2 separate regions of the Homo sapiens genome follow, and region 2 is linked to region 1. Evidence: promoter capture Hi-C in 16 types of primary human blood cells and fetal thymus (Javierre and others, 2016). All regions are on one chromosome and are shown on one strand. The core of a region is centred on a gene start or on the middle of the fragment in contact, and the rest is flanking DNA. Distances in the headings are between cores, read along the strand shown.

What was found. Contacts are between HindIII fragments. The CHiCAGO score rates a contact against its expected background, and 5 or more counts as called.
Region 2: a contact is called between a fragment that was not itself captured here and the fragment with the promoter of MAP10 in region 1, in 2 of 17 cell types (naive CD8 T cells and naive CD4 T cells). The highest score is 5.9, in naive CD8 T cells.

What each region holds. Positions count from the first base shown.
Region 1 is chr1:232,803,444-232,807,743 of GRCh38, forward strand. MAP10 (microtubule associated protein 10) reads left to right here and starts at 1,973. Exons shown (of 1, transcript NM_019090.3): 1 at 1,973-4,300. The coding sequence starts at 2,007. RefSeq lists enhancers at 1,768-2,365, 2,077-2,156, 2,366-2,962. The HindIII fragment of the contact is 4,755 bases long and covers 410-4,300 here.
Region 2 is chr1:231,862,280-231,866,617 of GRCh38, forward strand. The region is part of intron 9 of DISC1 (DISC1 scaffold protein); the gene reads left to right. All of the region lies in intron 12 of TSNAX-DISC1 (TSNAX-DISC1 readthrough (NMD candidate)), which reads left to right. Among named protein-coding and RNA genes, the nearest start is that of DISC2, 46 kb to the left of the region's middle. The HindIII fragment of the contact is 4,730 bases long and covers 1-4,338 here.

The sequences.
Region 1 (4,300 bases), core at 723-3,222:
AACTCCCTGGTTCAAGCGATTCTCCTGCCTCAGCCTCCCAAGTACCTGGGATTACAGGCATGCACCACCACACCCAGCTGATTTTTGTATTTTTAGTAGAGACGGGGTTTCATCATGTTGGCCAGGATGGCCTCGATCTCTTGACCTCGTGTTCTGCCTGCCTCGGCCTCCCAAAGTGCTGGGATTACAGGCGTGAGCCACCGCATCTGGTCCGAGAAGTATCTTGTATTTATATATTGCAATGAGACTTCTCTCTCACGTCTTCACACTAAAGCATCATATCCCTCCAGTTCTGAATTTCTCTTGAGCTTCACAATGTTCTTCTGAGCACTGAAGCAATATAATTTAACTATAATTTATAAAGCTGAATAAAGCGGTACATATATAATGCCCAGCAGCAGGTACCTCAAGCTTTACATATCTCAAAACTCAAAGTATTTTTTTCCGTCAAATCTGTGCCTCCTCAATATTTTCACCTTCAGTAGCAGAAGTTTTTCACCCATGACTTTTCTTTCCCATTCACCAAATTTTAAAATTCCTCCATCACAAATGCCTCTTCTGCCACCTCTTTTTAATTTCCACTAGTCCTGACCATGTGCAGGTCATAATTATCTGCCTCTTAGACCACTGCAGTAGTCTTCTAATAGATTGCTCTGAATCCAATTTCTAATTAGTAGAATCCATCCTTTGTATTCCTCCCCATGATACATTTCCAAATATTGCTATGATGTACTTATTCAATCAAAAAAATTTGGACAGAATATAGTCCAAATTCTTTACCATGGCATTCAAGGCTCTCCAAAAACTGGCCTTGGATTCCTAGCTGGCTAGCTCATTGAGGTTAGGAGTATGTTTCTTAAAATATCTGGATAGAGCAGCAAGTTCTGTGTGTCTCTGTAGATGTGTGTATATTTATGTACACACATTTGTTTTATTGATGGAATCATTAACATTACTCTCATGCATCATGATTGCTTAGCTGGAAATGTTGTCAAATAAAAAACAGGGCCAGACAGTAGTTGAAGTGGCAAAAACACTGTAGTCAGGAACTACTGCAATAAGAGAAAAGAGACCTCAATACAGAGCTGGGCTCAATTCCAATTACAGCATGGACAAGTGGGGATTTAAAGCCAAGGGGGCGTCAGGTCAAGTGGATGGAAACTTACTGATAGGGAACATCACGGGTGGGAGGGTTCTGATTAAGCAGGCCTAATAGGATTCTTGCTGAAGCCAGGCCAGGGTGGTCAGATACCAATGATAGAAAATGAAGAATTTGATCAGGTATCGACGGTAATCAGGTATGAAGGGTTGGGGGTTCTCTCTCAACAGCCGTAGCGAGACCTTTGCTACAACTCGGTGATCCAGGGTCCACAGGATTGGAAGCCAAGGTCAAGGCCTAGTCGGAAAGAAGGCTTAGATGAGCCTGACCAAAGTTCAGCCAAGGAGAGTTTTTGCCAGTGTATTCACACTCCGTGTGTGTGTGGTGTGTCTGTCTCAGTACTACTGTAATTGATGAGGCAGGGGCTCCCTGGCCATCCCAGCAGTGTCACCATCTTTTGGGTAGAACAGCAGACACAGAGATGGCCCACTGTGGACAGTTAACTAACTGGCTCTGTTTAGCATGGGAAAGGAAGGAGAGTCCTGATTTTCTTTCAATATTCCTCAGGTATATTGATCTGACCCCCAAGTTACATAAGATCTGCAGTGATAAAACCATTACCCAAAAAACTCACTGTCTTTTACCACTTATATCCTCAGCATTATCATCAATTGTCTTAATACAAGGTTGGTGGCAAAAAACGGCTCACAAGTATGCATACAAAGGGGCCAAACACATTGAGCAGCAAAACCCCCAAAGCAGACACCGCCCGAGACCCGCTGGAGCGCTTCCGCAAATCTCGCGAGATAGCAGGCAGCGATGCCTTTTGCTCCGGTTTCTCGTGAGACCCCGGGGCTTCAGCTTCTCGTTTGCGGAGCCCGCGGCGGCGTTTCCTGGGGCAACAGCAATGGCGGCCTCGCTGTCCGAGCGGCTCTTCTCGCTGGAGCTGCTGGTGGACTGGGTGCGTTTGGAAGCCCGGCTGCTGCCGTCCCCCGCTGCCGCAGTGGAGCAGGAGGAGGAAGAGGAGGAAAAGGAGCAGGGGGAGGCCTCGTCGCCGCGCGGTCTGTGCCCCGCCGTGGCCTTCCGCCTGCTGGACTTCCCCACGCTGTTGGTTTACCCTCCTGACGGCCCCGGCGCTCCCGCCGCCGAACCGTGGCCCGGTGTCATCCGCTTCGGTCGCGGCAAGTCCTGCCTCTTCCGCCTGCAGCCTGCTACCCTGCACTGCCGGCTCCTGCGGACCCCGCTTGCCACCTTGCTGCTGCAGCTGCCCCCTGGGCGCCCGACGCCCACCCCACAGCTCCTGGGGGCCTGCGACATTTCGCTGGCCACCGCAGCGCACAGGGTCGTGGGGCCGGCCGCCTCCGGATGCTCCCACCGTCACCGGGGACGTTTCCCCCTGCATAATCGAGTGGGCGAGCGGACTGGGGACATTGCACTGGCCTACCGCCTGACTGACCTGGGAAGCCGCCTGCTGAGCCAACTTGAGCGGCCCCTCACCTTCACCCGCACAGGAGGAGGAGCGGAGGTCAGTCCCCAAACCCAGCAGGAAAGACAGCAGCTGCAGCAGCCAGCCTCACAGCCAAGCCCAAAAGAGGCTGATAAGCCGCTGGGGGAGTTAGAAATCCCAGAGGCACAGAAGGATTTGAAGGAAATGGTTAAAAGTAAGGCCGAATGTGATAATGTGGGTTCTGTGGAGAATGGCAAAACCAATTCTGTTGTTACATGTTCAGGTGCTGGCAATGGGAGAAATGTTAGCTCCCTAAATGAGGAAGTCACAGAATTGGACATGGAGACCAATATATTTTGCCCTCCTCCTTTGTATTACACTAACTTGACCCAAGAAAAACCGCCCCCTGCACAGGCTAAAATCACCATTGAGCCTCAAATGAATGCACCTGAGGAAATGGATGATGCTTCTCCTGAAAAAAAGCGTGTAAATCCCCCAGCACACAGGAGTTGTCTAAAGCATCCAAGTTCTGCAGCACACGAACATCCTCCAATGCTTGTAAATCCTCCACATATTCAGAATATAGGAGCAACTAATCAAACATGTCAAACTGAACAAAATCGAATTAATACAATAAGGCAGTTGCCTTTGTTAAATGCTTTGTTAGTTGAGTTGTCCTTGTTATATGACCAACCTGTGACAAGTCCTGCTCATATACATCCTCACCTAGCCTGGTTATATAGGACTGAGGATAAGAAGTCACCCGAATCTTCTGCCAAATCCACATGCCGGTCTGAAGCCAAGAAGGATAAGCGTTCTGTGGGGGGATGTGAAAAGTCAGTGAGTCTTCAGTATAAAAAGAACCAAATTGAAAACTATAAGGAAGATAAATATTCTGAAAAGAGCAGTGGTGCCCTCCATAAAAGAGTTCCAAAAGGGAGGCTACTTTATGGCTTAACAAATACACTAAGACTACGTTTAAAGCTGACAAATCCTGATATGTTGGTGGTACATGAAAAAAGAGAACTATATAGAAAAAGACAATCACAAATGTTGGGTACAAAATTCAGAATTCCGTCATCCAAAGTTAAACTATTAAGCTCTGCAGAACAAAGTCAGAAGCCACAACTGCCTGAAGATAAGTATTTAGATTCAGATGCATCTTTCACTGAAAATAGTGATACCTCAAGACAAATCAGTGGAGTTTTTGATGAGCCCAGCACAAGTAAAGAAACTAAACTGAAATATGCAACTGAAAAAAAGACAGTTGATTGTAGTAAAAATAGAATCAATAATGTTTCATTGGAAGAAGTTGTGAGTCCTGCAAATTCCATTATTCCAGAAAGGCTTACCCCTACAAATATTCTGGGAGGAAATGTGGAAATGAAAATCCAAAGTCCATGTGTTTTCCAACAGGATGCTGTTGTTGACAGAATTGTAGATAAGGAAATAGATATTAGACAGGTCAAAACCACAGATAATGACATTCTTATGGCTGATATAAGTGACAAGAGAACAGGTAAAAATAGTTGCTATGAAAACATCTCAGAACTGAAGTATTCAGATGATTTGTCTAGCCCTTGCTATTCTGAAGATTTCTGTACCAGTGAGGACACCAGCAGAAGTTTCAAAGCTCATGATAGCAGTTCAAGGACAGAAAATCCAAAACATAGTCAATATACAAGCAAGTCTAGTGACACAGGAGTGTCCAAAAAGAAAAATAGTAGTGACAGGAGTTCTATCCTTAGCCCACC
Region 2 (4,338 bases), core at 977-3,476, 940 kb before region 1:
ACGGAATGCTGCCTCTGAGCTGAGCATTCTTGGTGTTCTCATCACTCATGGCAACTGTTTCCCATTGTGAGGATTCCCTTAGTGGTGTCATATTTGGACTCCAAAGAAGTATACTCAAGAAATGACTACTTCGATGGTTTTAGCAGATAATTTTTAGTTATTTGAGGATAAGAATAATAGTCTGCTTATGAAAGAACTTGGTAAATTTTTTTCTTCTGGTTTTCAGACACCATTTCTGTCTTAAAATGAAGTATCTGGTGTATGATTGCTTTGTAATATTTTGTTACTTAAGGGTGGTATCCAGACAACCCTTAGTTAATGTTATAGAATCAGAACTAGAAAGACCTCTTCATTCTTCACTTAGAGAGGATTTAAGTGTCTCTGGCCATTTATTGGGTTAATAATGGTGACTTCAGGTGACCCAGGAAACATCTGGATATCTTTGCTGCACTTGGAAAGACATTTAGTTTGGTAATATTTTCAAATCATGTGATCATTTCAAAATGACTTGCACCATGGAGTGATGATGTGATGCTGGCAGCAGCTGCTGTTTGCTGGAGATTTCGTGTGTCAGGCACAGTTGGGAATACTTTATGAATATTAGTTTATTTCTCACCTTGAAGGTAGACATTGTTCTCAGTTTGTTGAAATCGAGGCTCATGTAAGTAAAAAATGCCCACATTCATAGCAAATAAGTGACAGAGTTAGTCTCTGACTCTGCAAAGGACTTATATGGCTTTTGTATAATAAAGTCGGTCACCCCATTTTGGTAATAAAAGGGATAATAAAAGACCAACATGTCTTCATTAGCTTGCAGATAAGCTCCAAGTTTCAGCACGTGCATAGTTTGTAATGCCTTCACAGGGTCTGCAGGCTCATTGCCATGAAAATATAGAACTAACAAGAATTTAGTTTTGATTGACATAGTTTATAAAATGTTCTTTTTTTTTTTTTTTTTTTTTTTTTTTTTTTTGAGACAGGGTCTCTGTCGCCCGGGATGGAGTGCTGTGGTGCGATCTTGGCTCACTGCGGTCTCTGCCTCCCAGGTTTAAGCAATTTTCCCACCTCAGCCTCCACAGTTGCTGGGACTGCAGGTACCCGCCACCATGCCTGGCTAATTTTTGTACTTTTAGTAGAGAAGGGGTTTCACCATGTTGGCCAGGCTGGTCTTGAACTCCTGGCCTCAAGCAATTTCCTTGCCTTGGCCTCCCAAAGTGCTGGGATTACATGCGTGAGCCACCGCGCCTGGCCTAAAACATTCTTTTAACAAAAGCATAGCTTTATGTTGAATTCAGGTAGATTCGAACCATTGCTTTTAATAACACAATATGGGTTCTTTCAGACTCTTGGGGTAGATTGAACTTCTCATAAAACTGTCATGGGACAGATTGCAACTTCTTTCCAATATCAGAATCTCTAGGTGAGTTCATCCATTTCTTTGCCCTGGGCTTTTTAAGAAAGTAGGGCAATGAGTCCCTGGTTTCTCATCTCCGTAAGAATGAAAGGATGCTGGAGCCAAGGTCTAGTCTACTGCCAGTTTCTCCAGGAACAATGTGGAGGAAAAGGACCAGTGTAGATCAGAAGTCCATGAGCGGAAACTCAGAATCAAAGCGGTTATTCAATTCTTCTTTTCTTGGAGGAAATCACTGTGTCGCCTGAAGAGAAAAATGCCCTTTGCTCTTGCACTGGGGAGTTCTGTTTAGTGCCTTTCCACACAAAAGGGCTGTACTGGCTGGTACTATAGACTTTTTTTATGAAGATCTTTTTCATAAATCCTTTTGCAGAGTATAGCCAGGTAGCAGTATATGAACATTGGAAGTGAAACAGTTTTCGTCACACAAAATTAACAATAAAAACACATGCAACTCATCATTTATAAAACGATACTTGCAATTTTTCATTATTCTCATTTCTGAGGGCAAATTTTCAGATGAAAACAGAAAGGAATTTTAGAAGTTTTCATTTTTTTTTCCTACATCAGGCTTCCCTATATGTCGTCTGTATAACAAGCACCTTGATCTTTCATTCAGTTATAAGAGGCTCATAAGCGTTGCCTCTGTTTTCTATATATTGGTAGTGTCATTAGAAAACCTGAGGGGGTGGGCCGGGCGCAGTGGCTCACGCCTGTAATCCCAGCACTTTGGGAGGCCGAGGTGGGCAGATCACGAGGTCAGGAGATTGAGACCATCCTGGCTAACACAGTGAAACCCCGTCTCTATTAAAAATACAAAAAATTAGCTGGGTGTGGTGGTGGGCGCCTGTAATCCCAGCTACGCAGGACGCTGAGGCAGGAGAATGACATGAACCCGGGAGGCAGAGCTTGCAGTGAGCCAAGATCGCACCACTGCACTCCAGCCTGGGTGACAGGGAGACTCGTCTCAAAAACAAAATAAAACAACAACAACAACAAAAAAATCTGAGGAGGTGGACACCATTTTTTGGTACTGAACGACGTGATGACCGTTTAAAAAGAAAGGTAGATGTTAAGAAGGCTTCCTTATACAAAAATTCTTGTATATTGTTCCTTCCAATTTTATTTTTGTTTTGATATATAAAATCCTATGTTAAATCTCTCATCCTGAATATCAGATTACTCCAGAAGGAGAAAGTAGCAGTCTAATTATTTTATTTGGTTGCATGGTAGTCTTAGTACAATTAAATCTCCTTTGAAAGTTTCTCAGTTATGTAGTTATGAATAGCACTCCACACCACGGCTGTGGTAGACCTGGAGCGGTATTGGGCCCAGGTCACAGAATGATCACGGAAGGACTTTAGAGATCACCTATTGAGTCCCTGTTTTAGAGAGGAGCAAGCAAAGGCCCAGAGAACTCACTCCATTTGCCGAGGTCCGACAAGTGTGTAGGTGAGCTGGAGCCAGAACCCTGTCTTTCGGTCTTCACTCTAGAGCTCTTTCCAAACAAACATGCTGACCTGGGAGTCTGACAATTGCTGTATGCTGATGTTTCCTATTTGAAGTCCACATGTCTTTGCAGGGGAAGAGAACTGTCTAGTATCATTCGTTAATGCCCACTCTTCATGTTTGCCAAAGACCACCAATACATTGGGCAGTGATTGTGTTACACTGGTTTGTTTATATGTCGGCTTTCAGTGATGCCAGAAAATCAAAAGGAGGTTAAGAAATCCCAGAGGTTCACCCAGGATGGGAGGCTAAACCTTTGTTGTATTATGAGTCTTAATTCAAGATAACATAATCTTTAGCCTAATAAACATTAGGTTGAATTTTGAAAATGTAAACACTAACTGATCTGTAGACTGACGTCTATTTCCTTGGCAATATTGGCCACACCCATTAAATAATAACTTCTCATTCTCCCTTCCCCCAGCCTCTGGCAACCTCTGTTATACTTTCTGTCTCTGAATTTGACTACTTTAGGTGCCTCATATAAGTGGAATCACATGACATTTGTCCTTTTGTGATACGATATTTTCTTTAAAAAGAAAATGAACAGAAACAGTACATGAGAGAAGTCAGGTCTGCAGCCAGTGTGCCTCTTAGTTCCATATTCATACAAGGCCCTCTTGGAAGCTCAGCTTTGGAGTTGGATATTATCTCAGAAGATATGGCAGCTTAGGAATCTGGTACTCTAAAAACAGATTTACAAGCATTAGACTTTTTTGTATATGTGTGTGGTCATTTTAGTCTTCCTGAAAGTGGTTAAGACCAATATTTCTAGGCAGACTATAGTTCACATCATCCAGTTCTGTAAGTCTTGGATTATCGATCTCATTGTCATGGCAAAAAAGGACAGGGATTACTCAACTCATTACTCCTGTGTCCAGACCTCTGAGCCTGGTGTGTGTGTGTGGCTCAGTGCCTTTCCCATAGTGGCCCACATCCCCCCAGGGCCCTGCATGAAGTTCCTGCAAGTCTACCCCCTGCACGTGCAGAGCAAAAAGAGCTTCCTATGGGAGCTGTTCTCCAGAAAAGACAGAAACCCGGGCCCTAGAGAACCAGAAGATTTAAATTCCAGTTTCAGCTCTGCCATTGACTAATTAGGCAACTGTAGGCAGTTCACTTTGCTCCTTTGGACCAGAGATTTCTCATCTACAAAATGAAAAACTTGGATTTAATTATCTCTGAAGTCACTTCAAGCAGAAATGTAACAATTCTTTGATTTATTAAAAAAAATAACATCAATGATAATGACCAACAGCTAACACTTATTACAAGGCTCCAGGCACTTTCGAAGTCCTTAATATTTAATGTTCACTACTACCTTAGGATATAAGTACTGTGATGCAGAGTCCTGGACACAGAGAAGTCAGCAACTTGCCTGAGGACAGCCTGCAGGACACAGCACTGTGATTTGAACCCAG